7 separate regions of the Homo sapiens genome follow, and all the other regions are linked to region 1. The links are contacts of gene promoters, found by promoter capture Hi-C in human tissues and cell types (Jung and others, 2019). All regions are on one chromosome and are shown on one strand. Each heading gives the region's core, a stretch centred on a gene start or on the middle of the fragment in contact. The rest is flanking DNA. Distances are from core to core; before and after follow the strand shown. Region 1 holds the start of LRRC8A (leucine rich repeat containing 8 VRAC subunit A). Region 2 holds the start of TOR1A (torsin family 1 member A). Region 3 holds the start of TOR1B (torsin family 1 member B). Region 4 overlaps PRRX2 (paired related homeobox 2). Region 5 holds the start of PTGES2 (prostaglandin E synthase 2). Region 6 holds the start of NTMT1 (N-terminal Xaa-Pro-Lys N-methyltransferase 1). Region 7 overlaps CIZ1 (CDKN1A interacting zinc finger protein 1).

Region 1 (4,302 bases), core at 1,299-3,798:
CTGGACTCCCTGTCACTAATTATTCTAGTCCCTCCTCTTCCAGAAAGCATACCCTGACCACCCCCTACATAACCACCCAGAGCTAATTCCTTCTTCCTCTGGGCTGCCTCTGTAATATTTCTATTAATATGGTGGCCACAGTATATCAGAACTTATGTGTCTTCTGGTTTGCCTGTCCTCCCAGACTGCAGCTCTCAGGAGGCCAGGGATGTTTTCCCAGCCATCCCAGGCCCAAGACAGGCACTTTCTAAAGAATGGCTGAATGAATGAATGAATGAATGAATGAGTCAAGGCATGGAGAGACACTGTGCTGGGCTCTAAGAGCCCCACATCCATCCCACCTGAATCTCCAAGAGGTCTTGGCCCATCAGTGTGTGCCTCAGTTTCTCCATGTGAAAACCTGGAATCAGCTCTACTCTAAGACGAGGCAGTCAGGAACCAGGCTGATTTCCCTCCAACTCCTACAGGCAAGGTCCAGGCCAAGCCAGGCAGCAACCCAGGGTCCGGCCACTTCCCTGAGTTCTGACCCACGGCAGTGATCCCCAGGATTCCCTACAGTCCAGAAAGGTCATTCAAGAGTTTGCAAAGGAAACGGCTTCCTGGTGGGTGTGCCTAAGGGATGGAGAACCACCACATCTAGTCAAGTTCTGGGGGGAAGTCATGAACATTTCCTGTGCCCCCGCTCTGTTTTTTTTTTTGTTTTTTTGAGATGGAATTTTGCTCTTCTTGCCCAAGCTGGAGTGCAATGGCGCGATCTTGGCTCACTGCAACCTCTGCCTGCTGGGTTCAAGCAATTCTCCTGCCTCAGCCTCCCGAATAGCTGGGATTACGGGTGCGCAGCCCCATGCCTGGCTAATTTTTTGTATTTTTAGTAGAGACAAGGTTTCACTATGTTGGCCAGGCTGGTCTCGAACTCCTGACCTCGTGATCTGCCCGCTTCAGCCTCCCAACGTGCTGGGATTACAGGCGTGAGCCACCACGCCCGGCCCTGCACCCCCTGCTCTGTACCCTATGGTCCCTAGAACGCAGAGGGCATCAGACCCCATGCCAAAGCCCTGAGACCAGGAAAACAAGGAAGCAGAGACCAGCCACCCAGTCACTCATCCCTGGCATGTCCACAACAGCCTCCTCCAGCACAGGTCATCTGTCCTTGCCTCACTTCATGAGCCAGAGGAAGACTTGACCTTCATGGAAGCAACACCAGTGAGACTGAGCAATCAGCACTGCCCAGTCTCTCTGAACAAACTCCCACTCCCACATCCCCTCCACAGGAAGTATCAGCAACAGCCGATCTCCTCCCGCTTCTTACAGCCTGTCTGTCTGCCAGGTTGTCTGCTCCAAAGGGCAGAATACAGTTTGGCAGGGGTTAAGAGTACTACTAACAGAAGAGGTGGAAGAGGTCCTTGGGAACTTCGGGCTCCCCCAGTTCCCTTCCTCTTACCAGGTGCTCTCCCTCCACACCTCATTCTCAAAAGGCTTCCTGAGGTAGGGCAGGGGAAGAGGAGTCAGTGGAAGTGTGGCTCACCCAGGAACCGCCCACCCTTCCAGCCAAGTCTCCATCAGGAGGCGGCTACCAGACAACCCCCGACCCATCCCTCCTTCCCAAAAAAGGCAACAATCGCAACAGCTGAGAACCGGCAGACCTCGGTTCACCCCGGTCCAGATCAAGGGGAAGAAGCAGTCAGCGAAAGCAGCAGAATCATCATGAACTCCATGACCCCAGCTATGCCCCTTCAGCCTGGGAGCTCAGTTTGCTGGGTATCCAGCTCACCTAGGGCTGCACCAGGCCTGGACCTCACTGGATCTCGCCTCGCCCTCGGGCCCACCTGAATGCACAGGACTGGGACAGGGTCTGGGTTCTTAGATTCCGGACCGGTCTTCCCAAATATCCCATCCCAGAAAGGCCCCAAGAGCCTAGCCGGGGATCCTGCCCCCAAGTCAGGGCACTGCCCCCATCGGAACGATAGGAAGGAGGGGTGCAAGGGAAGAGAAGGGGACCAGGAACTCAGGAGAAGACAGCTAAGGAAATCTTTGAAAAAGAAATGGCAAGGAGAGAGCCCAGAGGTGGAACCTCTAGGAACGGGAGAGTGTGTGTGGAGGGGTGAGGATCTGGGGGGACCCAGGGGATGACAAGGGGACATGGGGGAGCCGAGGCGGAAACTCCTGGTTTCTGAAGCACAAGGAGGCACAGGGGTGCCTGGGAGGGGGCTCGCGCGCCGCGGAGCCGGCGAGAAGGTGGTGCCCCGGAGACTCCGGGCACTGGGGAGCCCAGAGGTAGGCCGAACACCGCGGGAGGTCCCCAGGGGGCCGGCCCGGAGACAGAGCCCCAGATGCCCCGGGCGCCCCGGGCCGGGCAGCTGGCCGAGGGCGTGTGTAAGTGGGTTTCGAGAGGTGACAGCTCGCGCCCCTTTCCCCACCCCGTCCACTCACCTGGGCTCGCCGCGCCCGGCCGCCCGGCAGGCAGCCCCAGGCCCCGGCCGCTCCGTCCCGCCGCCGGCCGCAGCGCTGCTCCGGCGCCTCCTTTTGTTTGTCCCTCACTGCACCACTCAGCCTCCTCCGCCCCGGAAGTGACGTCACCGCCGGGCGCGAACGCGGCGGCCAGGGCGTCGCCATCTTTATGAGGAGAATTCTAGCGGCGCTTTCTCCCGCTCTCGCCTCCGCGCTAGCGCCCTGCTGCTTCGGGGCGGAAGTAGCGGAGCCGGGCTCGGCCCCCTTAAAGGGACAGGGACTGCTGCAACCTACGGGGTGTACTTGGGAACGAGGGGTGAAGCGGCCCAGGTGAGGGTGAGTAGCTGTGTCGGAGCGCCACTTCCCCAAGGTCAGGTGCCGAGGCTGGGAGGGTCGGCTAACGGTTCCGAGCTTGGTTGTGCTAGAGTGCTTAATGAGTTTGATGCTACTAAGTATAACGGAGTGGCTGCACAGAATGATTGAGCCGCCCGCGGGAATCAACTGCGCGTGCTGCTCGCTGATTCTCGCTCGGACACTGGGGCTGGTCCTGTCTGCACCCAAATCCCCCTCCCACGACCGCGCCGGTGGAGATGATACCCGAGACAACAGAATTCTGGACAGATCTGGGGTTGGAATTGGGTCCCCAGACTCCAACTCTGCAGCTCCATAAATCCCGCTGGGTCCTCGCAAATTCCCTGGCTGATAACAGTACCGGCAACCAAATTAAAAAATAATCCATACAGTGGAATACTGTGCAGCCATTAAGACGAACAATGTTTAATATGCACTAATGTAGGGTGACTTCTAAGATACCTTAGGTTAAAAAAGGAAACAACAGTAAAAACAGCGTTGGGCCGGTTGCGGTGGCTCACGTCTGTAATCCCAGCACTTTGGGAGGCCGAGGCGGGCGGATCACGAGGTCAGGAGATCGAGACCATCCTGGCTAACTTGGTGAAACCTCATCTCTACTAAAAATACAAAAAAATCAGCCGGGCGTGGTGGTGGGCGCCTGTAGTCCCAGCTACTCTGGAGGCTGAGGCAGGAGAATGGCATGAACTCGGGAGGTGGAGCTTGCAGTGAGCCGAGATCGCGCCGCTGCACTCCAGCCTGGGCGACAGAGCGAGACTCCGTCTAAAAAAAGAAAAAACAGCGTTGATGGGTGCTATCCATCTTTGCGTAGAAGGACGCCTGAGGGTGGGCGTATCTGCGGGTGTGCGCGCCAGCTGTCTGATAAGATGCACAAGAAGTTGTTAATTGCGGTTGTCTCCGACAGAATTGGGGTCTTGGGTACCTGGGCCAGGGCGAGAAATTTACTACCATGTGCACAGATAGATAATTAAAAATAAGATGATGAAGATAGTCGTGGCTCCCATCCATCACGTGTTAAGCCAATGCCTAGTTTCACTTCTGTTGGGAGGTCTTATTTTTCCCTTTTAATAGAAGAGAAAAGAACCTTAGAGAGGTTAGGAAACTTAGCAATATCATAGCCAGGGCCGGGCGCGGTGGTTCACACCTGTAATCCCAGCACTTTGGGAGGCTGAGGCGGGCGGATCACGAGGTCAGTAGATCGAGACCATCCTGGCTAACACGGTGAAACCCCGTCTCTACTAAAAATACAAAAAAATTAGCCGGGTGTGGTGGCGAGCGCCTGTGGTCCCAGCTACTCGGGAGGCTGAGGCAGGAGAATGGCATGAACCTGGGAGGCAGAGCTTGCAGTGAGCTGAGATTGGGCCACTGCACTTCAGCCTGGGCAACAGAGCAAGACTCCGTCTAAAAAAAAAAAAAAATCATAGCCAGGAAGTGGAGAAGCTGGAATTTGAACCCTGGGAGATTTACACTAATGCCCATGATCTA
Region 2 (4,302 bases), core at 611-3,110, 940 kb before region 1:
TCACCATATTGGTCAGGCTGGTCCCAAACTCCTGACCTCAGGTGATGCACCTGCCTCAGCCTCCCAAAATGCTGGATTACAGGCATGAGCCACCATGCCCAGCCAGTTTCTAATGCCATTTTACAATGAAAGGAATCAGGGTTCCTCGTAGAAAATAGGATTCTAGGACTGGGGCAGGAAATACAAGATGAGCCCGGAGTATCCTGTAGTGTCAGAAAGGAAAGAGGCACTCAAACCCAAATAAGCTGGTATATACACTGGGTGTATGTCAAAGGAGCACAAGGAACCACTCAAATTCCCAGTGGCCAAAATGAGAACAATTTGAAAAAAAAATTAGTACTGTAGTATAACAAAGGATAAAATAACAATGGTCCACACTGATATAAATGATTGAATACATGGGGGAGAAGAAACAAATCTCCCATGCAGAATTCCAAATAATTTCTGTAGATACTCTGCCCCCAAGGAGGTGGAGCAAAATCCCCGACTCCTTACGTGTGGGCTGTGCATGGGGACGTCCTTCCAAAGAGTACAGTAGAGAAAAGAGGGGTGGGGGGACCTGACAAACACTACTTCAGTCAAGTGATCAAGTCAGCACCAACAGTGGTAAGTAACGTTGAACAGTAAGAACCCTTCCTTGGTAGGATGTGATGAGCATAGCACTTTACCTCTGTGATCTTCCTTCCAAAACGCCATAACGCTTGTCTAATCCTGAGAAAAACATCAAATCCCAATAGAGGGCCAGCCCACCAAAGATTTGGCCAGTACTCCTCAAAACTATCAAGGTCATCAAAAATAAAAAGCTGAGGCCAGGCGCGGTGGCTCACGCCTGTAATCCCAGCACTTTGGGAGGCTGAGACGGGCAGATCATGAGGTCAGATCAAGACCATCCTGGCCAACATGGTGAAACCCCGTCTCTACCAAAAATACAAAAATTAGCCGGGCATGGTGGTGTGTGCCTGTAATCCCAGCTGCTCAGGAGGCTGAGACAGGAGAATCGCTTGAACCTGGGAGGCAGAGGTTGCAGTGAGCTGAGATCATGCCACTGCACTCCAGCTAAAATAAAAATAAAAGGCTGAGACACTGTCATTAACAGTAGTCTAAGACATGACAACGAAATATAATGTGGTATCCTGAATGGAAACCTGCAGCAGAAAAAGGCATTAAGTAAAAGGAAGGAAATCTGAATAAACTACACTTTAGTTAATATGACAACAGTGCATCGTTAATTTTAACAAATGTAGCACACTAATAATGTAAGATTTTAGTAATAGGGGAAATTGCAGGGATGGGTGGCACATGGGAACTCTCTACTATCTTCTCAATTTTTCTGTAAATCTGTTCTAAAAAATAACGTCCGTTATTATTATTATTATTATTATTATTATTTGCGGGGAGGGGACACAGTCTTGCTCTGTCTCCCAGGCTGGAGTGCAGTGGTGAGATCTCGGCTCACTGCAATCTCCGCCTCCTGGGTTCAAGCGATTCTCATGTGTCAGCCTCCCCAGTAGCTAGGGCTACAGGTGCCTACCACCACACCCGGCTAATTTTATATTTTTAGTAGAGACGTGGTTTCACCATGTTGGTCAGGCTGGTCTCGAACTCCTGACCTCAGGTGATCCGCCCGCCTCAGCCTCCCAAAGGGCTGGGATTACAGGCAGGAGCCACCATGCCTGGCAAAAATAACGTCCATAAACAAAAACACGTGGCCAACAGGGGCGGAGCAGAACCGAGTTTCCGGAAGCAAAACAGGGCTTTGTACCGAACAAAGATGGCGGCCGCCGGCGTCGGGAGGAGGGCTGCCCTGAAGAAAGATGGCCTCCGCGAGAGGAGGAACCGGAAGCGTGGGTCTGGCGGCTGCACCGGTTCGCGGTCGGCGCGAGAACAAGCAGGGTGGCGCGGGTCCGGGCATGAAGCTGGGCCGGGCCGTGCTGGGCCTGCTGCTGCTGGCGCCGTCCGTGGTGCAGGCGGTGGAGCCCATCAGCCTGGGACTGGCCCTGGCCGGCGTCCTCACCGGCTACATCTACCCGCGTCTCTACTGCCTCTTCGCCGAGTGCTGCGGGCAGAAGCGGAGCCTTAGCCGGGAGGGTAGGCTGGGGCGGGGGCTGGAGGCTGGGGCTGGGGCTGGGGCTGGGCGATGGCACTAGGGCTGAACTAGGACCAGGGCATGGAGAATGGAGGATGGAGGCCGGGGGATGGCACCAGGGCCGGGCTAGGACTAGGGCTGGAGCGGGGCCTGGGGGCTGGGGCTGGGCGATGGCACTAGGGCCGGGTTGGGGCTGGGGCTGGGGCTGGGGGATGGAGCGGGGCCCGGGGGCTGGGGGTGGGGCTGGGGGATCGCACTAGGGCTGGGTTAAGACCAGGGCGGTTGGCTGGGGCTAGGGGATTGAGGATGGTGGATGGAGGCTGGGGGATGGCAGTAGGGCCGGGCTAGGACTGGGGCTGGAGCGGAGTTTGGGGGCTGGGGCTCAGGAGCGGGGGCTGGGGCTGGGGCTGGGGCTGGGGGATGGCACTAGGGCCAGGCCGGGGTAGGGGTCACATCCCAGGAGGGCCGGGCCTGGGCAGAGCTGAGTCCGCGGGGGCCGGACCCCGGAAGCCAAGCGGCCGGCCTGCAGGATGAGGCCTGGCTCCTCGGCCATGACCACAGACGTGCCAGACTTAAGTCGGAGACCTGAGGAGCCAGGCTGCAGGTTGGCCTACTTTGCGCTAAGCTGGGGGTGGACCAGTGGTAACCTCCCTCCGAAGTGGGTTCTGCCTCCTTTCTAGCCTAGCGGGAGACAGGAAGGATGGTGAGGACTCTTCCGCAGCCGACCAGGAGGGACCAAACTGTTTCCTTTCCCGGCTCTGCCTTGGGGTGGGAGGAGCAGCACAGGGGTTAGGGGTGCAAACTGGTGGCAGTGGCAGTGGCACCAAGGGGCTTTTCGGGAAGGAGTCGGGCCAGGGCTTTAGAATAGGCAGGACCAGCAAAGGGAGGGCTCCCTGGACCGCCGTCCCCTCTGGGCCAGGAGCTTACAGACCGCAGTACTTGAGGTTTCGCAAGGTGCTTGGAGGGCGTCTAGACGGCTTTGCTGGCTTTCTTATGGGCTGTAAATGTGGCTACATTTTGCCGCTGTTTCTTCCCCACTCCTGATTGGCTTTGTCTTTCCCAGCACTGCAGAAGGATCTGGACGACAACCTCTTTGGACAGCATCTTGCAAAGAAAATCATCTTAAATGCCGTGTTTGGTTTCATAAACAACCCAAAGCCCAAGAAACCTCTCACGCTCTCCCTGCACGGGTGGACAGGCACCGGCAAAAATTTCGTCAGCAAGATCATCGCAGAGAATATTTACGAGGGTGGTCTGAACAGTGACTATGTCCACCTGTTTGTGGCCACATTGCACTTTCCACATGCTTCAAACATCACCTTGTACAAGGCAAGGATGGAAGTTTGGAATCCCTTCCTGGATGTCATCGGGTTTGGGGTCTCTTTGTTGTGGGATGAGATTTGGGAGTTCTATGTTGAAATGAGTGAGCCCGGAAAACGGTTCATGTCTCAGTTCCCCTTGGAAAGGTGTAGAAGTTAAGAGTTTGAGATGCGTGGAGCAGTTAATACCATCAAAGCTTTGTGGTGGGTTCTGAAAATCGGTCCAGTGAGTATGTAGGGTCATGGGATTTTAGAGGTGGACATGATCAAATCCATCTTAGAGATCAACACATCTCACTCATTTTTTTATTTTTTTCTTTATTTTGAGACGGAGTTTCACTCTTCTTACCCGGGCTGGAGTGCAATGGCATGATCTCAGCTCACTGCAACCTCTGCCTCCCGGTTGAAGCAATTATCCTGCCTCAGCCTCCCGGGTAGCTGGGATTACAGGGTCCTGCCACCATGCCCAGCTAATTTTTGTATTTTTAGTAGAGATGGGGTTTTGCCAACTTGGCCAGGCTGGTCTCGAACTCCTGATCTCAGGTGATGTGCCTGCCTCAGCTTCCCGAAGTGCTGGGATTACAGGCGTGAGCCACCATGCCTGGCCACATCTCACTCATTTTGTGAAAGAGGAAACATGTAGAGTCCTAAGTTTGTTGAACCTACTGTTGTAAACTGCCTTTTTTTTTTTTTCTTTGAGTCAGGGTCTCACTCTGTTGTCCAGGCTGGAGTGCAGTGACGCCATCTCAGCTCACTACAGCCTCCACCTTCCCGGTTCAAGCGATTCTCCTGCCTCAGCCTCCCAAGTAGCTGTGACTACAGGCATGTGCCACCACAGCCGGCTAATTTTTGTATTTCTAGTAGAGATGGGGTTTCCTCACATTGGCCAGGCTGGTC
Region 3 (4,302 bases), core at 900-3,399, 920 kb before region 1:
ACAGGCGCACGCCATCACGCCCGGCTAATTTTGTATTTTCAGTAGAGACGGGGTTTCTCCATGTTGGTCAGGCTGGTCTCGAACTCCCGACCTCAGGTGATCCGCCCGCCTTGGCGGATCCCAAAGTGCTGGGATTACAGGCGTGAGCCACTGCACCTGGCCCTGACTACATCTCTCTTTTTTTTTTTTTTTTCTGAGACAGAGTCTCACTGTGTCGCCCAGGCTGGAGTGCAGTGGCGCGATCTCGGCTCAGTGCAAGCTCCGCCTCCCGGGTTCAGGCCATTCTCCTGCCTCAGCCTCCCGAGTAGCTGGGACAACAGGTGCCCGCCACCATCCCCGGCTAATTTTTTGTATTTTTAGTAGAGACGGGGTCTCACCGTGTTAGCCAGGATGGTCTCCATCTCCTGACCTCGTGATCCGCCCCCCTCGGCCTCCGAAAGTGCTGGGATTACAGGCGTGAGCCACTGTGCCAGGCCTTTTTTTTTTTTTTTTTTTTGAGACCGAGTACGGTGGCGCGATCTCAGCTCACTGCAACCTCTGCCACCCAGGTTCAAGCGATTCTCCTGCCTCAGCCTCCCAAGTAGCTGGGATTACAGGTGCGTGCCACCGTGCTCAGGTAATTTTGGTACTTTTAGGTAGAGATGGGGTTTCACCATGTTGGCCAGGCTGGTCTCAAACTCCTGGCCTCAAATGATCCGCCCGCCTCGGCTTCCCCAAAATGCTGGGATTACAGGCGTGAGCCACGGCGCCAGGCCCTTGGCTCCCCATCTTTTAATGGAAATAACATCCCCTACCCCACTGGACTGTTTTGGAACCAAGTAAGAGAAATGTTGTAGGAGAGCTTTGTAACTACCTGGACTAAGTGTGCCTTAACTCAGTGGAGCCGGGGGCTACAGCAACACAAAGGAAAGAGAAGCAGAGGCCAGAGTTAGTGAGCAGGTCACCCGGACCAGTCCGACTGGCCTGCAGACGAGATAATAGCGGGTTCTCTTGCCTGGTACAGTTTTATCTTCTGCTCATGAGGGAAGTGCAGAGTCGATACAAACAGGTGGACAAAGTTACTCTTCAGACCTTTTGGGTGAAGATTTTCAGCCACAATTTGACTGACAAAATTCTTGCCTGTGCCAGCCCAGCCGTGTAAGGAAAGGGTCAGTGGTTTCTTGGGATTTTTGTTGTTCCTGAAGCCAGTCAGCGCCTTGAAAATCACTTCCGTGGCTAGATGCTGTCCAAACAGCTTCTCCTCCAAATCCAGCTTGAGAGCTGCAAGAACAGCCCCAGAACAAAGAGAGAAACAGACCTTAAAAATGCATCAGCAACGCAGCACTTTCTTAGCTGGCCAAAGCAAGAAGCACAGATTATCCAGGGACACAGCAGGGTGTCTGCCACACCCTAGGGCCGAGGCAGTCAAACGATGCCACTTTCAAGATTATGTGGAGGTCCTTAACGCTTCGGGGTCTGATAAGGAAGCTAAATGTTCATTCATTCAGAGATGAACCATCGCTTGACTGAGCGCTTGCTAATCCCAGCCACCCTTGCTGACCTGCAGGAAAACCAGGGGCCAAATGTGGGCTTTCTGGGCGACGCAGCACGTCTGAAAACTACTTAATAGGGTTGGCAGGGCGCAGAAGGGCCGCCCGCCTACTTTCCGTTTCTTCCACCTGTGATCCCAAGGAACGGGAGCTTTAGAAAGGCGCTGGGGCAGCCCCACGATCTGGAGACTGTTTGCGAAGGCACCGCTTCTGCGTTCCCGCGAACGGTTCCGGGGCCGCCCCATCCGCTCCCCGCCCACCCCAGCTGGGACCACCGCCGTCTAGATGCCACGGGCCCGGTCCGTGCCAGGCGCCCACGAGGCCGTCCCTCCGCGCCCCCGCGCCCCCGCGCCCCCCGCAGCGCCGACCCACAGCTCGCGCGCGCGCCGTACCCGAAGCGTTGAGCGGCCGCTCCTCGCGGCAGCACTCGGCGAAGCGGCAGTAGATGTCATTGTAGGACAGGTAGCCGGTGATGGCCGACGCGGCCCCGATGGCTAGGCCCACGGTGATGGGCTCGAACGCCGCCACCACTCGGGCCGCCAGCAGCAGCGCCAGCGCCGCCGCGCCCCGGAGCCACCCAGCCCGCAACATCCCGCTCCTCGAAGCCCGCAGAAGCCACTGAGCCAGGCGCCCCGCGGCCAAGCGGCAGGACGGACTTCCTCTCGTGCGTCACTTCCGCCCCGCAGACCCGCCCACTCCCTTGGGGGCGGCCATGTTGGTGAGGGGCGGAGAGGAGGGCGGTGCCATCGTTCTTGGGAGTGGTCCGAAGGTGTAGGAGACTGTTTTGTTTCCCTTTTCTTTTAAAAAAATTTTTTCGGGCCGGGCGCGGTGGCTCACGCCTGTAATCCCAGGACTTTGGGAGGCCGAGCCGAGATCACGCCATTGCACTCCAGCCTGGGCAACAAGAGTGAAAAAATATCTAAAAAAAAAAAAAAAAATTTTTTTTTTTTGGCCGGGCGCCGTGGCTCACGCCTGTAATCCCAGCACTTTGGGAAGCTGAAGCGGGCGGATCACCTGATGTCAGGAGTTCGAGACCAGCCTGCTCAACGTGGCGAAACCCCGTCTCTACTAAAAATACAAAAAATTAGATGGGTGTGGTGGCGGGCGCCTGTAATCCCAGCTACTCGGGAGGTTGAGGCAGGAGAATCTCTTGAACCCAGGAGGCGGAGGTTGCAGTTAGCCGAGATCGTGCCACTGCACTCCAGCCTGGGCGACAAGAGCGAAACTGTCTCAAAAAAAAAAAAAAAGGCTGGCCGGGCGCGGCGGCTCACGCCTGTAATCCCAGCACTTTGGGAGGCCGAGGCAGGCGGATCACGAGGTCAGGAGATCAAGACCATCCTGGCTAACACAGTGAAATCCCATCACTACGAAAAATAGAAAAAATCAGCCGGGCATGGTGGCGGGCGCCTGTAGTCCCAGCTACTCGGGAGGCTGAGGCAGGAGAATGGCGTGAACCTGGGAGGCGGAGCTTGCAGTGAGCCGAGATCGTGCCACTGCACTCCAGCCTGGACGACAGAGCGAGACTCCGTCTCAAAAAAAACAAAAAAAAGCCAAAAAAAATTTTTTTAAACTTTCTTATATTTTTTTCTTATCTGATATGTATATTGGGGACAGGGTCTGGCTCTGTCGCCCCGGCTGGAGCGCAGTGGCAGGATCTCGGCTCGCTGCAAACTCTTCCTCCCAGGTTCAAGCGATTCTCCCATCTCAGCTGCTGGAGTAGCTGGGATTATAGGTGCCCGCCAACACGCCCAGCCAACTTTTGTGTTTTTAGTAGAGACGGGGTTTCGCCATGTGGCCCAAGCTGGTCTCGAACTCCTGACCTCAAGCGATCTACCTGCCTCCGTCTTCCAAAGCCTGGGGTTACAGGAGTGGGCTTATGGCTGGATTTGTTTTCTTCAGAGCTTCTCGGAGCCCTCAAGCTTTGCTTTGTTATCCCTCCCTTCACTTCGCCGGAGGTATAATGTGCGTTTCTTGGGTCGGCCCACCCGCCTGCCTTCTTCCTGAAACAGTTGCGAACTCTCCGTGCTGCGCCCTAGACTGAGCACTGGGGATGCAGCGGCCCCAAGACAGACCTGCCCAGGCTTCCACACTGAAATCCCGAGGTCCATTCTTTCATTCAGCACGCTAGGTGGCAGGCCCCTTGCTGGATGCCAGGAACGACAGCAGAGGAGGGGACGGAGTTGGCCCCTGCCCTCTCAGAGCTGACGGTCTATGGGGGAGGCCGACAAAGGGGTGAGACTCAATGCTGAGTGGGCAGAGAAGTATCGGACAGTGGTACAGGGAAGGCTTTTGTCTAAGCTGGGCACTGAGGGAGTTAGGCCAGGCAAAAAATGAGTAGAGTGTTTTAGGCAGAAAACAACAGTCAGTTTGGAGAACTGAAAGGATTCCACATGGCGGAAGGTGGTGAGAGATAGGGATGAAGAATCAGGCAGAGACTGGAAGGTGAAGTCCTTGCGAATGTTGTAAGGAGTTTGGCCTCTGTTCTGGGGGGTAATAGGGAGCCACAGAGGGTTTTACACAGGAAGCAACATGGTCAGATCAGAGATCATTCTGGCTGCTGGGTTCACAAGAAATGGAAGGCAGAGAGCCAGTGAAGAGGCTGTTGCCGTGGTCCAGGTAACTAGTCAGGGAGACAGATGAGCAAGCAGGCAGCTTATGTCCAGGGTGGGCCAAGGCTGTAATGCAGGATGCACAGAGGCCTGTGGGTGGGGAGGGATCTTCTCCTCCCTATCTCAGTTGCGATCTAAAGAATGAATGGAAGGGCCAGGTGCAC
Region 4 (4,302 bases), core at 1,097-3,596, 810 kb before region 1:
AGGCTGAGGTGGGAGGATGGCTTGAGCCCGGGAGATGGAGGCTGCCATGAGCTGTGATCATGCCACTGCACTTCAGCCTGGATGACAGAGCTAGACCCTGTCTCAAAAAAAAAAAAAAAGTATATTTAAAAAGGGAAAAGAATATTAAAAAATAAATTTCACAACTGGCTCTCTGTGGGGGAGGAGATCCTTAATTTACAGTGTTTGTCAATTTCTGGGGTATAAATACTTCTACCATGGCCAATTTCAAGCCACAACATAACATCAATGAAGACGAAATCGAGAAGAGGTGCCCTAAAGCCCACCAGTGTGTGGTATTCCTACCATCCAGATACCACAGTGCAAATAACCTCAAGCATAAATAACAGCAAAATGTAAAATTATGAGAAAGAGATGAGATCTGAGTATCTATTGCCTGTGTTTTAAATATAATTTCTGTGATTGTAAGTTTATATAATTTTTTTTTTTTGACAGAGTCGCTTTGTCATGCAGGCTGGGTGCAATGGTGCGATCTTGGGTCACCGCAACCCCTGCCTCCCAGGTTCAAGCAATTCTCCTGCCTCAGCCTCCCATGTAGCTGGGATTACAGGTTCCCGCCATGACGCGTGTCTAATTTTTTTTTTTTTTTTTGTATATTTAGCAGAGACAGGGTTTCACCATGTTGTCTAGGCTGGTCCCGAACTCCTGACCTCAAGTGATCCACCCGCCTCAGCCTCCCAAAGTGCTGGGATTACAGGCATAAGCCACTGTGTCCGGGCCTTAATTTTTAATAATATCTGTGTTTGACAACCAGCTTCCAAAATTCTAAAAACTTAACAATAGGCTCTTGTGCAGTAGGACAAGCGGGCACAAGCACACCACTCTAGTTTACAGCCCACCTAAAGGAGAGGGTCTTATTTTTGCCTCTCTCCTCTCATCCTTACCCATATGCAGCTGTGTTTTGTTGGAGATGGCCTCATGGTGTAGAGCCCATTTGAGAGTTAAGAGCTGGCACTGGCTGGGCGCGGTGGCTCATGCCTGTAATCCCAGCACTTTGGGAGGCCAAGGCGGGCAGATCATGAGGTCAGGAGTTCAAGACCAGCCTGGTCAACATAGTGAAACCCCATCTCTACTAAAAATACAAAAAATTAGCCAGAAGTGGTGGCAGGCATCTGTAATCCCAGCTACTCAGGAGGCTGAGGCAGGAGAATCGCTTGAACCCAGGAGGCGGAGACTGCAGTGAGCCGAGATCGCACCACTGCACTCCAGCCTGGGTGACAGAGCGAGACTCCGTCTTAAAAAAAAAAAAAAAAAAAAGAGCTGGCACCGTACTTATGGTGCTAGTCATGTCTGTCCAAGGACTAGCAGCCCCCAGAGCTGCTGCCTTTGGGAGGGCCCTCTCAGGTCTCCAGATCCTGGGTACCTTGATCAGGGTTCAGATCCTACCCATTGGCGTGATACAACCTGTGTGCCAACTCCATCACCTGCGCCGGGCAGCAGGGGCCTTTCTAAAGTGAGTTGTTACCCTCAAAAGTGTGCCCAGAGGGCTGGAAAAGTCATGTTGGAGAAAACTCGGGCCCCAGCTCTTAGGCCAACTCTCAGGGAGAGAATGACGCAGCCCTGAAAACAGAGGATCGCAGCGGAGAGGAGGACAGGCTGGGTAAGGTGGGAGGGATGAAGGCAGCAGGGTGGGACAGGGCCTCGGCCCTAGCTGCACGGGGCATTACTGGGGAGCAGTAGAGGGTGGAGCCTTTAAAAATAAGATGCTATTGGCCAGGCGCGGTGGCTCACGCCTGTGATCCCAGCACTTTGGGAGGCTGAGGCGGGCGGATCACAAGGTCAAGAGATTGAGACCATCCTGGCCAACACGGTGAAACCCCGTCTCTACTAAAAATACAAAAAATAGCCAGGCGTGATGGCGCGCGCCTGTAATACGAGCTACTTGGGAGGCTGAAGCAGGAGAATCGCTTGAACCTGGGAGACAGAGGTTGCAGTGAGCCAAGATTGTGCCACTGCACTCCAGCCTGGGCGAAAGAGTAAGACTCCGTCTCAATAAATAAATAAATAAGCAAAATAAGATGCCAAGCCCCCGCCCCCACCCCGGAGAGTCGGACTCCACAGGTTCGGAGTGAGGCCTGGCCATCAGCATTCATTGAAAGCTCGCCAGCTCATGCTACCGTGCAGCCAGGGTTGAGGACCACTCACTGGCGACACCAAGTGCAAGGTCTTTGCGCATCAGACCAGCCTAGAGTTGAGGCCCAGCCCTATGGCCAGGGACCACTTGTCCCAAATAAGCCTTGGTATCTTCATCTGCAAAAGCGACATCTACTTACAGGGTTGGTATTGGTGATAACTCAAGCAAACACGCACAGTGGGAGATGGGAGAATGGGAAATGATGATGGATGCCACTAACTCGCGTGGAGCAATTCCTTCAAGCGGAGCACTAAGCCAAATGCCTGGTCACACCGAAATCTGGCAGTCCTGAGAGACAAGCATTATCACTTACTCCCCTTTTCCAAACGAGGAAGCCCTGGCTCAGGGAGCATGGTGACCTGCACAAGTGGCAGAGGCAGGATTCCAGCCGAAGCAGGCAGGCTTCTTACTGAAGACCCCTGTGCTCTGGGAGCTCAGAGAAGAGCTTAGGGGTGGAGAAGGCAGGGAAGCTTGAAGGAGGAGAGAAATGGAGAGAAGACAGGAGTGTGTTCAGGAGCACAGGAGTGTCTCTCTGTGCCATGAAGCCAAACCAGCACCCCTAAGCCATGAGCCTACCCGCAGCCAACGACACACAACATTTCTGGCCTCGTGCACACTTCACCTCTTTTCTGTGAGACCCAACCTGAAAAGATTCTATTCTGTATGATTCCAGCAACAGGACAGACACTTTCCTTTCCTTTCCATTCTATGAATGAGAAGCCTGAGGCCGCAGAGGGGAGGATGCTAGGCCTAGAGCCACCCAACCAGAGGGTGGTGCTGTGTGAACTGGTGAAGAGAGTAAACAATGGGCTCCTACTCATCCTACAAGACCCAACTGGAAAAGCCCTCTCCTGATGCCCAGAACCCCTGTGCACGTTTGCTTCAGCCTCCTCACACTGGGTTCCAGGCTTGGTCTCCTGTCCTAGCTCTGCTAGGCTCCCAGGTTTCAGGTGTCTCTTTGGGGCCCATGCCATTGAATGGCAGGAGACAGAGTGACAGAAATGTGGACCCAGTGAGCCCTCCTGGCTGTTCTCCTTCAGAGTCAAGAGACCTTGTCCTGACGTGGATGATGCTTCTTGGGAGAAACGTGAGGTCAGTGTGCTACTGCGTGTTTGCGGGGTAGGGAAAGGAAGGCACCTGGGGCAGAGACTGTGGGAGGGAGTTCATGATCAGAGACCACACTGTAGACACAGGTCCAGGGTAGCTCTTCAAATGACCCCCATTATATCATGGGGCTCTTCCCAGTCCTCAAAGCCATTTCTTGACCGGGCACGGTGACTCACACCTATAATCCCAGCACTTTTAGGAGGCTGAGGTGGGAGGATCGCTTGAGTCCAAGAGTTCAAGACCAGCTTGGGCAACAGAGTGAGACCCCCATCTCTACAAAAAAGACAAAAATTAGCCAGGCATGGTAGTGGCATGCCTGTAGTCCCAGTTACCTGGCAGGCTGAGGTGGGAGGATGGCTTGAGCCCAGAGGCGGAGGTTGCAGTGAGCCAAGATAGCACCACTGCACTCCAGCCTGGGTGACAGAGTGAGACCCCCATCTCTACAAAAAATATAAAAGTTAGCCAGGCGTGGTGGTGCACACTTGTAATCCTAGCTACTCAGGAGGCTTAGGCAGGAGGACCGCTTGAGCCCAGGAGGTCAAGGCTGCGGTGAGCAGTGATTGCACCACTGCACTCCAGCCTGAGTGACAGACTGTCCCCGCTACCTCCAGAAAGCCCTTTCTCATCCACCCTCAATCACTGTGCGAGGGGGCTACTGTCATCAGGTTGCTTTAGAAAAGGAGAAACTGAGGCTCAGAGAGCTGATGCTGCCTGCCTAGGCCTGCCCGGCCAGGGTCTGAGCCAGTCTGTCTGCCTGCCCTTGTCTCCTGGGCCATGCTACCTTTCTGCTCCCCAAATCTCGGGTGTGATGAGTTCCCACACCAACCAGGCTGCTAGAATTCCACGGAGTTGGCGCAGCGATCAAAAGGGTATAGTTTGTGAGTCACTCATTCATTCATCCAGGCAGCATTTACTGAGCACCACCCTTGTGCCAGGCGCCACTGTTGACACAGCCTTGAGTGTGCAGAGGGAAGCCGGCTGGTACAGCGCAAGCAAGTTGAGTTAGTGACGGTGGAGTGGCT
Region 5 (4,302 bases), core at 1-2,500, 750 kb after region 1:
TGAAGGAAGTGGGTGGAGCAAAACCCATATGGGCGAGTGTCCCAGCAGCTGCCTCAGTTTCCCTATCTGTAAAACGGGGCTGGGGACCTGCAGCTCTCACGGGACTGGTTACCCGCTCGCGGGTGCTCGCCCTGCATCCGAGACAGCACCTACAACTCCAAACCCACTCGGGGCGGGTCGAGGTGGGCCCTTCGGTCCCTTCGAAGCCAACATCCCGATTCCCCTTCCCGGGAAGGCACCCCCGGAAACGCCAAGGTCGCTCCAGCAGTCTCCTCGGGTCACCCGCTTCCCCGAAGCCGTCGTCCTCGCCTTCCGCTCTCGTCTTCACCGGCATACTCAGGTCCCCGCTGGGGACTGACACTGCGGGCTCGGTCGCCGCAAGGACTGGAAGGAAGGTGGAAGATGCGGGGCGAAAGCGGAGCGAGAAGAGTGGGACGCGGCGGAGCAGCAGAGCCGGGACTCAGAGCTCCCCCCTCGCCCCGCCCCTCTCCCCGCCCACTCTGCGAGTCCCGCCCCCTCTCGGGCGCCGGGCGGGGCCATCCCGGGGCTGTCCGCGGAGACGCCTATGCGGTGGAGGCTCCGGGCTTCAGCTAGGGCGGGGGAGCCCAGCAGAAGGACCGAGCAGCCTGGCACCCCACTTTGCCATCCTCTCCCTGGAAATCTCGGGGTCGGCGGGCCGGCCGCTTCGCGTGGGCGAAATCAGAGACACGTGGTTTCCAAGGCCCCTTCGGGTTCGGGAAAATTTTATGGTTCGGGTCACAGTAGGAAGCGGACAATGAGGCGGGAGGGCAGAGAGAACCGCAACACCTGGTGCCGGGTCGGGTCGTTTCCGGGGCTTTCAGTGGCCGGAAGTCGCGGCGCCTGTACTGACTCTAGGAAGGGCTGGAGTTGTTTTGAATGGGCGCCCGTAAGAGAGGTGGGCAAGTACGTGTTACAGACGGCCACGCCGCCCTTTAGGCGGTCAAGGTGGGGCGAGGAGACGTTCGCCCCCCTGCAGTCGGCCGGGTCACTACCCAAGAGCCTTTGGAGGCGGAAGCATGGAACGGTCTGCAAACGTTCCCGAGCGGGCCTCTGCGGCTCTGGCGGGCGTTTCGAACTTGGGCGCCGGGCACACGCCCAGTCCCGAGAGCGCTGAGGGTTCCCTTAGCGTCGCCCTCACCCCGGCCAACCCGCGGGGCGCCAGAGTCCTGGCCCTTTAAACGCCGCGCGTGCCTCGGCGTCTTCGTTTCGCGCGCCCGCCCGCGGCGCCGGCGGAGCGAACATGGACCCGGCTGCGCGGGTGGTGCGGGCGCTGTGGCCTGGTGGGTGCGCCTTGGCCTGGAGGCTGGGAGGCCGCCCCCAGCCGCTGCTACCCACGCAGAGCCGGGCTGGCTTCGCGGGGGCGGCGGGCGGCCCGAGCCCCGTGGCTGCAGCTCGTAAGGGGAGCCCGCGGCTGCTGGGAGCTGCGGCGCTGGCCCTGGGGGGAGCCCTGGGGCTGTACCACACGGCGCGGTGGCACCTGCGCGCCCAGGACCTCCACGCAGAGCGCTCAGCCGCGCAGGTAAGGCCTGGCCCGGCCGGGGATGGGGATGCTGATCAGCGCCGAACTCGGGACTCCTGGGAACCCGCAGGGTCAGGAGTTGCCTCTGCCTGCTTGTGACCTTGGGCGAGTGACTTGGTCTGAAGTCTCCGAACCCTCTGTATTCTTTTGTGTAAAATAGGGGCACTCCTGATGCCTACTACCTGGAATTGTTCGAGTTCTCATAAAATCGTTCTTCTACCGTGGTTTTTTTTTTTTTTTTTTTTTTGGTTTGTTTATTTATGTTTTCGAGACAGGGTCTCGCATTATCGCCCAGGCTGGAGTGCGATCGCGGCTCACTGCAGCCTCTGCCTCCCAGGTTGAAGGGATCCTCCTGCCTCAGCCTCCCGAGTAGCTGGGACTATAGGCTCACCCCACTGCGCCCTGCTAATTTTTGTATTTTTTGTAGAGATAGGGTTTCACCATGTCGCCCAGGCTGGTCTCGAACTCCTGGCCTCAAGTGATCCGCCCACCTTGGCCTCTGAAAGTGCTGGGATCACAGGCGTGAGCCACTGCGCCCAGCCTTTACCATGTTTTAAGGAGACTTTTTTTTTTTGAGACGGAGTTTTTTTTTGCTCTGTTGCCCAGGCTGGAGTGCAGTGGCGCGATCTCGGTTCACTGCAACCTCCGCCTCCTGGGTTCAAGCAATTCTCCTGCCTCAGCCTCCCCAGTAGCTGGGATTACAGGCGCCTGCCACCCAGCCCGGCTAATTTTTGTATTTTTACTAGAGACGGGGGTCTCACCATGTTGGCCAAGCTGGTCTCGAACTCCTGACCTCAAATGAGCCACCCGCCTCGGCCTCCCAAAGTGCTGGGATTACAGGTGTGAGCCACGGAGCCCAGCCTCTACCGTGTTTTAAGACTTTTTTGATTAAGAGATGGGAGATCACAGGAAAGGGAAAGCCTTTTTCACTTTCCAAACGTTCATCATCCTCTCTCCCCACTGCCCCCAAATCCTAAGGCTGTGTATTTATTTAGTAGTAGTGGTGGTACCTTTATGGAACTGATGACTTAGACTCCAGGCTGAAACAGGAAGAGGTAGAAAGGTGCCCCCCCCAAGTGGTGACCCCCTAAGTGGTGGCCCAGCTGCCTTGAGACACTTTATACCTACCCCACACCTTGCAACTCTTCATTACTTGACTTCCCACCACCCGCCCACAGATGCTTATTTGCTGGACCAGAGGGAACAGAGGTGGGTAAAAAGGGCATGGAGTACTCTGTGTCTCCCTTCCTGCCTCCACGGTCCAGCTTCCCCTCTGAACACAGGGGGATGGTCTACAGTTGTGGCTTCCCGGCATGAACGTGCAGCAGGCTCCCCTGGGGGCTTTCCTGCGGAGCTTGCCACACGCAGGCCTTGGCTCAGATACCACCCTCCCCCTCGGATATTTGAGATAGACTTTGGCTGGAGGATCACATGAACCCCGGAGTTCAAGGCTGCAGTGAGCTGTGATCAAGCTACTGCACTCCAGCTTGGATGGCAGAGTGAGACCCTGTCTCCAGAGAAAAAAACAAGAAAGAGATTGGAGGTAGACCCCACTGGTGAACATGAGCCTGGGTGGTAGCCCAGCTCTGCCCCCAGAGGTCCCTGGGGTTAGAGGAGTGAGAGTGAACAAGTCAAGTTGAAACAGTTGTTCCATGTCTGTGGGAGTGGGGTGTATACCCTGGGGCTGTCTGGTGTCCCCTTGGGACTGGAGTGAGAAAAGAGGGGTCTGTCCAGTATGGGACAGAGACTAGAAGATTCCTCCTACACAACCTCGCAGCAAAGGGTGGGACTCCTGCTTGGGGACCGTGCTGGCCAGGGGCTTAAACCTGGGCTGCTGTCCAGTGCCTCCCTTTCCCCTACCGCCCCCTTCCATCTCTAGTTCCTCTTCCCGATGTTCTAGCGTCATTTCAGAAGACTCCTCTGGAAAACACCCTTGGGGGCAGGGCCTGGGCCTGGGGGTGCCAGGTCTAGAAGCCTTTTCCGTCTGCTGCCCGCAGCTCTCCCTGTCCAGCCGCCTGCAGCTGACCCTGTACCAGTACAAGACGTGTCCCTTCTGCAGCAAGGTCCGAGCCTTCCTCGACTTCCATGCCCTGCCCTACCAGGTGGTGGAGGTGAACCCTGTGCGCAGGGCTGAGATCAAGTTCTCCTCCTACAGAAAGGTGCCCATCCTGGTGGCCCAGGAAGGAGAAAGCTCGGTGAGCCCCAGGGAACCCCCTGCATCCTTCCTCCTTTCCTGGGTTGTCCTGGAGCGCCCCCTAGCCTGGCCTGGCTCTGCAGCCTGGGAAGGAACTTGTGATCCTTGTGCCTGTAAGGACTATGGGGGAAGTAGCTGCATACGGTAGATGCTCAATAAATGTAGGCTCTCTCCTTCCGTACCAAAACCAAACACCTGCTGGGTCTCAGGGAGGCAGAACACCACAGCTTAACAACATAGATTCTGAAATCAGCGATCTGGGTTTGAGGTGTGATTCACCCACTCACTAGCTGTGTGACTTGGGGCAAGTCACTTAGCCTCTCTGCGCTTGCTTGCTTCATGAGTCAACAAGGGACCATATTCTGGCTTGCAGGGACGGCAGATATGAAATGCCTGGCACAGTGCTTGGGGTCTAGTATGTAGCTTCCAGAACCCACCCTGCCCCTCTACCTGGGAGGCCAAATGGGTGAGTGGGCTGGGGCTTAGACCCCACGGCTTTCCCACACCTTCCTCCCCATTGGCCACAACCACGTCTCCCTACTTAGGATGGGTGCCCTGAGGGCAGGGC
Region 6 (4,302 bases), core at 896-3,395, 750 kb before region 1:
CCGCAAGCTGACCACAAAGCTCCCACACTGGTGTCCCAGCACTGGGAACAACACTGCCGGAAGGAGAAAGAAGCCCACGGCTCAGAAACCCCATCTCTGTCAAAAATACACACATTCTAGTAGCTACTAGGGAGACTGAGGTGGGAGGATCACTTGAGCCTGGGAGGTCAAGGCTGCAGTGAGCCATGATCCTGCCTCTGCATTCCAGCCTGGGCAACAGAGTGAGACATTGTGTCAAAAAAAGAAGAAGAAGAATGAATTCTTCTTCCCACCAGACCTGCCAATCCTCAAGACTGCTAGATGTGCCCGGGTAGCTGACAGGAAAAAGGGCCACCAATCTGAATGTCACCATGTAGCTGGGTTTGGTGGCTGCTATGGTCTGATGGCGTAAGGACCAGGTTAGGTGGGCTGCCTGCCCCTCTGCCAGCAGGTACCGGAGCAACCATGTCACAGCCCTCCATCAGTCACTCAAGAGAGGACGGCATTCAAAACTACTCTATAACCTATAACCTATAACCTGAGCCCTTTGGGAGGCTGAGGTGGGAAGACTGCTTGAGCCCAGGAGTTTGAGTCCAGCCTGGACAACAGAGCGAGACCCTGTCTCAAAAAACAAAAAACACTTGGTGGCTGGGAAAATTAAAGACAAAGGTTAAAAAACGAACTACTACTCTTCCACACCATGCTGGCACAACTCCCATTCAGACTGGACCATGGCGAGAGCAAGCCTGTCTCCCTCTCACCGCCCAACTTGGCAAACTGAAGGTTTTGTATTCAGTTCTCTCTCTCGCCTGGCCGGGGAGCTCCTGAGAGCAGTGGCAACATTTGAGATTTATCACCATGCTTCTCTTGCATCCCATGAAACACAAATATTCAACAGAAAGTTCACCTCTGATCAAATGAACAGAATAAATCTGGGGGCAAACACATACCAGGCTGGACTCCATCCGTCTCCTCTCCCAGCATGCAGCTTCCTGGGGGTAGAGACATTACCTTGTACACCATTAGCCCAGTGCCTGATACCAGGTGGGCATTGACTAACTGGTTGCCAAATAATGCAAGAATGGGCTTTGTGCAGCTATAGCCATTTTCCACTCTAAGAAAATCCTACAGACAAAAGTCCAACCATTCAGAACTGGTAAATACTGAAGGCCTGAAGGCTGCTACCGACAATATAATTCTGTGCTTTACCAAAAGCCTTGTAACATGATTCCTTTAAATGTCAGGGTCCCCTGAATAATCTAATTTACAAGAATTCCACTTACACGCAAATTCTGGGAACAAGCCAGGGGAGGCACATCCTGGCCGGGAAATAGCAAGCCTGACTTTGACATCTGCCCTAACAGCTGATTCATTAATAAACGGGATTCCTGGGGTCCTGGCTACATTTTGCCTCGTGGTGTCCAGATTGGAGTGGGGCAGGAGGAGGTCCCTAAGAGTCTGAGGGAACAGCAAGGTCAGTCAGCCAACAGCAGGTGGTCCTGCTACACTCTGCTCCAGAGCACAGATGCCGTATGTGGCTGAAGGGCCTGGGAGGGGGCCAGGAGCACACGGGCTTTGTGTGCACTCTAGGCTAGCTCAGAGAGGAAGACAAACCCCTCATGCCTGGTAAATGGCTGCTCAGCCAGTAAATGTGATCCTACATCCTTCACAGTCACCTGGCTGCTGCCTCCTCCTCCCCGCCAAGGTGTTCAGACCCAAGGTACTGCATCTCTTCTCCCACGACCCATGGAAGAAAACAGTGCTGAAACTGTCACCGGCAGACTTTTGCAGTCATCTCATCCTCCTCACGTAAGTCTCTACGGAAAAGCCTGCCTAAAAGTTACCTCCACCCTCTAGCAGCCTAGTGGACAGAGTCCATCCTCCCTGGATCTTTGTGGACAGCAGCAGGCCACATGCAAACGGCAGAGTGCTCTAAGAAAAAGAAGGAAGTGAGAAAGGGAGGGAAGAAGACAAAACAGGGGATACATTTAAAAACTAACAAAGGCTCTGATGGAGCCAGATGAACCAGATCTGAATCTTGGCTCTGCACACCTGCTGTGTAAGCACAGACAAGACATTAAACCTCACCATTCCTCAGTTCACCTATAAAATGGAACAGTAATACCGACTTTACAGAAAGGCTGTGATTAAAAGTGCATATGAAAAGCTTAAAGTGCTTTGCACAGTGCCGGGCACATATTCTCTCTTGAGCTTAGAAATCTCTGTCAAATGAGATTCTTGTCAACTCTGCCCACTATGAGGATCAAATGGGAAAACTGCCTTAGAATGCCACAGAAGCTGTATTGGACACACCTAGGGGACTGTTACTGGTATGCTGGGCGGCCAAGCCAGCAGACTCAAACAGCTCTGCAAATCAGCCAGAGTGGGGAGTGAGCTTCCTCTGCCTATAAGCACAGAACCCCCACCGAGATTTTTTAGATGCCATCCTTGTGATCCTAGGGCTTCCGGCCTCCACCAAAACGCTCCATGCATCCTTCCAACCCCCGCACAGTCCTCAGTTTACATAGAGAAAAACCAGCACACTAAAGGAAGTGACGTGTCTTTAAACATACAAACAGGAAGCCGAGAACAGAATTAAGGAGGGAATCCAGGCTCCTTATACCAGCCCTGGTTCCTCCCAGAGGCTCATCCCATCTCACTGGGCAATCATTCTACACACCACAACCACCGGTTACACTGTCCCTCCCCGCTGTCAGGGCCTCTGACACCAGTTGTGGCAATCACTTATAGTACAGAGGAGAAACCAAAGTCCAGAGGGAGAGATCACACAGTTGGTGCGCAGCAAAGTCTGGGCTTTTCGATATGGCAGCCTCCCTGCAGACAGGCTGACCTTGGCCGCAAGGGCTCTCGGGCTGTCTTTTTTGAGCTGCACCTGTGTCGGGCTGGCGCTCGGGTGGCACCCAAGGTTAAATACGACAGCAACTTCTGTGCAGCGGGCACTTAACTGTGCCAGGCTCTGAACTGGGCATTTTACCGATTTTACCGATTCCTCCCATCCATCCTCCAAGTGGGCGCTCTCCATATCCCTGTTTCTCGGAAGGGAAACAGGCTCAGAGAAAGGGATTTGCTGCGGTCTGGGGACCGGGGTGGGGGAGTGCCCTGCCTGGGCTTTGAGTGCCTTGACTTTCCTCCTGTACCCCGACCCATGGACTGCTCCGTAGTCCCTGCCCAGGTCCGGCCCGTAGACCTCTTGGGGACGCGCACGTGAGGCCTGTGCCGGCCCGCGCGCACGCGCCGGGTCACGTGACGAGCCGGGGACCCGGGACCTCAGGGCGCCGAAACAGTTAGGGGTCGCAGCCTCCCCTCTCCCAGCGGCTGCCTACCCTTCGCACCGCCTCGCGCTACTCACTCCGGGCGGGGGCTCCCGGGACCGAGAGAAGAAGATGGGGAAGAGGAAGGGAGGGCGGCGGCGGCGGAGACGCCACAAGCCAACCGCAGCTCCGCCAGACCACGACCAGACGCGACAGCTCGCGGCGCGCGCTGCCTTTGTCCGCCAACGTCACTTCCGGGCGTTTAGGGGCGGGCCCATGGCTGGCTCCACCCCCTCGCTCAGCTCGCCCCTCCCCCGCGCGGGCTCCGGATTTAACTTAACTTCTTTTGAAAAATAATTTAAATTTTTTTTTTTTTTTTTTTGAGATAGAATCTTGCTCTGTCAAGCAGGCTGGAGTGCAGTGGCGCGATCTCGGCTCACCGCAACCTCTGCCTCCCAGGTTCCAGCGATTCTCCTGCGTCAGCCTCCAGAGTACCTGGGACTACAGGCGTGAGCTACCACACCCAGCTAATTTTTGTATTTTTAGTAGAGACGGGTTTTCACCATGTTGGCCAGGCTGGTCTCGAACTCCTGACTTCAAGTGATCCGCCCGCCTCTGCCTTCCGAAGTGTTGGGATTATAGGCGTGAGCCACCGCACCTGGCCTAATTTGACTTCTTTAAAAAAAAAAAATTAGAGACGGGGTCTCACCCTGTTGCTCAGGCTGATCTTGAACTCCTGGCCTCAAGCGAGGCTTCCACCTCGGCCTTCCAGACTGCTGGGATTACATGCGTGAGCCACCGCGCCCAACACAGGTTACAGCTCAAAACTTGACTAAATTGACTTTTGGGAATCTAGAAGGACCTCCCGAACGGAAAAGAGCCGCAGCGTCGCCCTCTCCCCGTCCCCAGCACGTACAACAGTTCGTTTGGAGGCTGCAGGCTGGACTTCTAAAAACGAGTGTGTTGTGCGGGCTTTGAGTAAAAAGGGAAAAAAAAGCCATTGGTCCTCAAATCCACCCATCTCCATTAGCATCTTAAAATAATACCGACC
Region 7 (4,302 bases), core at 636-3,135, 710 kb after region 1:
GAGCACTGGCTCCCAGCTGGTCTGGTGATGGGACAGCTCTGCCCAGACCCTTCATTCCTCCCCTGACTGGGTGCTGCCTGGGACTGAGGGCTAGGCCTGGAACCCAGGTCCAGGGCCATCCATGCTGGGGGCCTCAAGGTTCTGGCTGCGGACGGAGAAGGCAGCTCTTGGGCCTGGGGACTCTGGGAAATACAGCACATCTGTCATTTCAGGCATGGAAAAGACCTTGCCAGAGCCTGTGGGCACCCAAGTCAGCATGGAAGAGATTCAGAATGAGTCGGCCTGTGGCCTAGATGTGGGAGAATGTGAAAACAGAGCGAGAGAGATGCCAGGGGTGGGTAGAGGCCCTGATGTGGCAGTGTGAGGGCCACAGAGCCCAGCAGGGTGGGATGGCCTCTTTCTGCCCCAGGCCACCTCAGGGCCTCCTTGTGTTTCCCCCACCGTGAAATGGGATGACAGCCCTCTGCCTAGGATGGGTGGCCAGACCAGGCTGGGCTTGATAGTGGTGTGCATGGGACCCTCTTGCTGTTGTGCTGTCTTCACATCCGTCCCTTCCAGCCTGCCCATCCCCAAGCCAGAGCCCCAGTCTCCTCGCATGGGTAATGTTGCTCTCGTGGAGAGAGCACAGAGTGGAAGCCTCTCTGTGGGATTTGGGTCCCAGCTCTGCGTAACTGTGGGCAAACCCTTTCCCTCCTGAGTCTGTTTCCCCATCTGTCATACAAGGGGTGGGATGAGTGGTACTTTAGGCCGACCTGGGTTCGCATCCTGACTGCAGTGCTTTCTAGCTGTGCAAGCTGGGGTAGTCAGCTAACAGCTCAGAGCCTCAGTTTCCCTATCATCAGGAAGATCTGATGAGACAACGTTGGCAGATGTTGAATGCTGGGCTGGCCCACTATAAGTACACAGTTGATGGAAGTTCAGTTCCTACTCCCCATGCAGGTATGGGGCGCCGGGGGCTCCCTGAAGGTCACCATTCTGCAGAGCAGTGACAGCCGGGCCTTTAGCACTGTACCCCTGACACCTGTCCCCCGCCCCAGTGACTCCGTCTCCTCCACCCCTGCGGCTACCAGCACTCCCTCTAAGCAGGCCCTCCAGTTCTTCTGCTACATCTGCAAGGCCAGCTGCTCCAGCCAGCAGGTACTGATACAGGAGATAAGGGTGGGGAGGGGTGGGGCCTGCGTGGAATGCCCAGCCTGCCCTCCCAAGAATGCCTCAGGCTGCAATGGGCCCTGCCCCAAGCAGCCATGCATTTGCTTGGGAAACATTTCCTGACCTGCCAAGAAGGCAGGTTTTGGTGGTTTTGTTTTTTGTTTTGAGACAGGGTCTTACTCTGCCTCCCAGGTTGGAGTGCAGTGGCATGATCTCAGCTCACTGCAGCCTCTACCTCTTGGGCTCAAGCAGGTTTTTAGAGTCAGTCAGACCTGGTTCATATCGGCTCTGAGTAGCTGGGAGACCTTGGAAAGCGAATTCCACCCTGTGCCTGTTTCCTCTTGCATCAGACAAAGGAAAGTTTAGGGTCGGGCACAGTGGCTCACGCCTGTAATCCCAGCACTTTGGGAGGCTGAGGTGGGTGGATCACAAGGTCAGGAGTTTGAGACCAGCCTGAACAACATGGTGAAACCCCGTCTCTACTAAAAATATGTGTTGGCATGCTTCTGTAATCCCAGCTACTCAGGAGGCTGAGGCAGAAGAATTGCTTGAACCCAGGAGGCAGAGGTTGCAGTGAGCCAAGATCATGCCACTGTGCTCCAGCCTGGGTAACAGAGCGAGACTCTCAAAACGAAACAAAAAAAAGAAACGTTTAGAATCCACCTCACTGGGTGGTTCTGGGGATTCAGCAATGTGACATTGGAGTCCTGAGCGCAGGCCTGGCCCAAAGTGAGTGTAGCAGTAATCATGATCGCATTGTACTTGTATTACTACTCTTGTGCTGTGAGCTGTGTTACTCTGTGCCTCACCTGGCACAGCCTTGGAGACCTGGATGCTAATCAGGCCGCTCCTTGTCTTTGAGGCACTCACACATTCTCTGGGAGGGGCAGAAGCTCGGGCTGGCATGTACCCTGTGTCTTAGTTTATCATGCCTGCTCTAGCCTACACAAGAGAGAAATGTGTGGTGAGAGAAATGGGCGCACAGTGATGAGGCTGGGGTCTGCCTCCCCAGGCCCCAGCCTTGCCCACTGTTCTGGGCTCACGCCCCAGGCCCATCCCTCTTTCCCTCCTGCTGCAGGAGTTCCAGGACCACATGTCGGAGCCTCAGCACCAGCAGCGGCTAGGGGAGATCCAGCACATGAGCCAAGCCTGCCTCCTGTCCCTGCTGCCCGTGCCCCGGGACGTCCTGGAGACAGAGGATGAGTGAGTGGGGGATCGTGGAAGCTCTGTGTTGGGGGGTAGGCAGTCTCATCGGCCAGGGCCTGAATCTACCATCTGCAGGGTTTACCTTTGGGTTAAGCACTGCACCCCCAGCCAGGCCTCCTCACACTGTTAACTGTGTGACCTTGAACCTCAGTTTTCCCTGCCTGTAACATGGCTTGGTGACGGATATAGTACAGGAATTCATGACATTCTCTTAAGGTTCCCTCTAGGCAGGAACAGTATGACCATCCCTGTGGGAGAGGACAGGTTGTGGCACAGACTCTTGCCCCCTGTGGCATGTGTGCTAACCCCGCTGTGGGGTGACAAGGCTGAGGATCAGGTTCTTTTGTGGTTGGAGGTTAGGGTTTCCCTGTGTCTCCCCCTTTCATTGTCATGGGAGCCTGTTTAATCAGAAACTTCAGCCCTCCTGGGGTCTGGAACTATACTGGGGTGGGAAGGCCTGGCAGGCAGCCAGAGGTGCTTTCAGGACTCTGTGGGCAGTCATAGAGGTGTGCAAGGGCTGGGATGTGTCATCTCAGCAGCAGGACCATGTTAGCTAGGGCCACAGCGGGGACACAGGCTCTGTCTCAGGAGACAGCTGCTTCTCATCTCTGGATCTCTTAGTTTTAAGAAGAATCCAGAAATCCAGGTTTGTATGTGAAATCTCCCAATTTCAAAATGTTAACAGCTAGTTCAGAATTGAAACAAAACAAACCCTACGGAGAGCAAATCAAACACTTTCATAGGCTGGACGGTCCCTTGAGTCAGTGGTCACGGGCTCTGTCCTAATTTTACAGAGGTCACAATTTGAAGCTTCCAGGTGGGGCTGAGGGGACAGGAAGGGCTCTTGGTTGGCCTCCGCTTGCCTGCCTTGTGTGACAGGGGGCTCTCGCTCTGCAAGGGCAGGCTGTGTCTCTGTTAGCTGTTTCTCCCTTTGAGAAGAGCGTCCTTGAGTGGTTTTCTACTTGGTTGAAATAATCATAAACACAGGAGAATGATGACTCACCAAGACGTTCTTTGCTATTAGTATCATGATGAAAAAATCTAACGGGAAATGATCTAAAATACTCGAAAGTAGGGGACTGGTTAGATGATGAAAAAGCCCGTCCAGCTCGTGGAACAATGAATAAATAGAATAACTGGAGAATTTATAATAATGTGGAAAGGTGATGCAATGTCAAAGTAAAACAGGATTCAAAATTGCATCTGCAGAATGAGCTTGTTTGTGTAAGAATAGATCTTGTGACACAGAAGAAAACTAAAAGGACATACGTAGCACAAGCTGTTAACAAACTTGAGGTGTCGGGGATTCATCAAACCCTCTCCCAATGTTATCTCTCCATGAAGTCTTCTCTTGAATCCTACTTGGCCCTGAGGCCATCAAGAACATTATGGTCAGGCGCAGTGGCTCAGGCCTGTAATCCTAGCACTCTGGGAAGCTGAGATGGGCGGATCACCTGAGGTCAGGAGTTCAAGACCAGCCTGGCCAACATGGTGAAACCCCCTCTGTACTAAAAATACAAAATTAGCTGGGCATGGTGGTGCATGCCTGTGATCCCAGCTACTCGGGAGGCTGAGGCAGGAGAATTGCTTGAACCTGGGGGCGGAGGTTGCAGTGAGCCGAGATCGCGCCACTGCACTTCAGCCTGGGTGACAGAGAGATTCTGTCTCAAAAACAACAACAAAAATTTAAAAAGTCCCTCCAGTCCCTACCTACGACCCCCTCACCTTGGTCCCCAACACAAAGACATCAATACTGTCTTCCTGCATCAGTGGGGGTTCTTCGCGGTTGTAAGTGAAAAAAATTCTAATTTCTATAAGACAGAAATTAGCTTGAGCAAAAAGGAACAATGTTTCTGGCTTAGGTTAGTGGGAATATAAGAGATACAGCTGGACCCAGGGGATACCATTTCTTAGAGAGGCTCCATCTCTCACTACAGTGGGCACCAG

The links. The method cuts DNA at HindIII sites, captures the fragments that hold promoters and counts their contacts. A contact is called where the count stands out against the background at its distance.
Region 2: a contact is called between the fragment with the promoter of TOR1A here and the fragment with the promoter of LRRC8A in region 1, in 1 of the 25 tissues and cell types used here (dorsolateral prefrontal cortex).
Region 3: the fragment with the promoter of TOR1B here is called in contact with the fragment with the promoter of LRRC8A in region 1 in 4 of the 25 tissues and cell types used here (IMR-90 fibroblasts, dorsolateral prefrontal cortex, hippocampus and 1 more).
Region 4: a contact is called between a fragment that was not itself captured here and the fragment with the promoter of LRRC8A in region 1, in 1 of the 25 tissues and cell types used here (spleen).
Region 5: a contact is called between the fragment with the promoter of PTGES2 here and the fragment with the promoter of LRRC8A in region 1, in 1 of the 25 tissues and cell types used here (spleen).
Region 6: a contact is called between a fragment that was not itself captured here and the fragment with the promoter of LRRC8A in region 1, in 1 of the 25 tissues and cell types used here (dorsolateral prefrontal cortex).
Region 7: a contact is called between a fragment that was not itself captured here and the fragment with the promoter of LRRC8A in region 1, in 2 of the 25 tissues and cell types used here (liver and lymphoblastoid cells).

Annotation. Positions count from the first base shown.
Region 1 is chr9:128,880,379-128,884,680 of GRCh38, reverse strand. It overlaps LRRC8A (leucine rich repeat containing 8 VRAC subunit A), which reads right to left and starts at 2,548. Exons shown (of 4, transcript NM_019594.4): 1 at 2,431-2,548. KYAT1-SPOUT1 (KYAT1-SPOUT1 readthrough) reads left to right here and starts at 2,731. Exons shown (of 25, transcript NR_182311.1): 1 at 2,731-2,784. It overlaps KYAT1 (kynurenine aminotransferase 1), which reads left to right and starts at 2,731. Exons shown (of 13, transcript NM_004059.5): 1 at 2,731-2,784. RefSeq lists a silencer at 2,202-2,481 and an enhancer at 2,512-2,661. The HindIII fragment of the contact is 17,929 bases long and covers 1-4,302 here.
Region 2 is chr9:129,821,694-129,825,995 of GRCh38, reverse strand. TOR1A (torsin family 1 member A) reads left to right here and starts at 1,860. Exons shown (of 5, transcript NM_000113.3): 1 at 1,860-2,088; 2 at 3,150-3,415. The coding sequence starts at 1,911. RefSeq lists an enhancer at 1,666-1,975 and a silencer at 2,386-2,475. The HindIII fragment of the contact is 10,199 bases long and covers 1-4,302 here.
Region 3 is chr9:129,801,031-129,805,332 of GRCh38, reverse strand. TOR1B (torsin family 1 member B) reads right to left here and starts at 2,149. Exons shown (of 5, transcript NM_014506.3): 1 at 1,922-2,149; 2 at 995-1,260. The coding sequence starts at 2,120. RefSeq lists silencers at 1,760-1,879, 1,940-2,069. The HindIII fragment of the contact is 20,911 bases long and covers 1-4,302 here.
Region 4 is chr9:129,687,499-129,691,800 of GRCh38, reverse strand. The region is part of intron 1 of PRRX2 (paired related homeobox 2); the gene reads right to left. Among named protein-coding and RNA genes, the nearest start is that of PRRX2, 24 kb to the right of the region's middle. The HindIII fragment of the contact is 4,845 bases long and covers 1-4,302 here.
Region 5 is chr9:128,124,677-128,128,978 of GRCh38, reverse strand. It overlaps PTGES2 (prostaglandin E synthase 2), which reads left to right and starts at 1,250. Exons shown (of 7, transcript NM_025072.7): 1 at 1,250-1,540; 2 at 3,538-3,735. The coding sequence starts at 1,262. PTGES2-DT (PTGES2 divergent transcript) reads right to left here and starts at 450. Exons shown (of 1, transcript NR_024425.1): 1 at 1-450. RefSeq lists silencers at 240-349, 380-579, 1,220-1,509 and enhancers at 890-1,009, 1,650-1,729. The HindIII fragment of the contact is 32,314 bases long and covers 1-2,910 here.
Region 6 is chr9:129,625,343-129,629,644 of GRCh38, reverse strand. It overlaps NTMT1 (N-terminal Xaa-Pro-Lys N-methyltransferase 1), which reads right to left and starts at 3,482. Exons shown (of 4, transcript NM_014064.4): 1 at 3,350-3,482. RefSeq lists a silencer at 3,118-3,357 and an enhancer at 2,971-3,509. The HindIII fragment of the contact is 3,089 bases long and covers 601-3,689 here.
Region 7 is chr9:128,174,401-128,178,702 of GRCh38, reverse strand. It overlaps CIZ1 (CDKN1A interacting zinc finger protein 1), which reads left to right. Exons shown (of 17, transcript NM_001131016.2): 9 at 213-334; 10 at 940-1,137; 11 at 2,228-2,352. Among named protein-coding and RNA genes, the nearest start is that of CIZ1, 15 kb to the left of the region's middle. RefSeq lists an enhancer at 1-469. The HindIII fragment of the contact is 7,872 bases long and covers 1-4,302 here.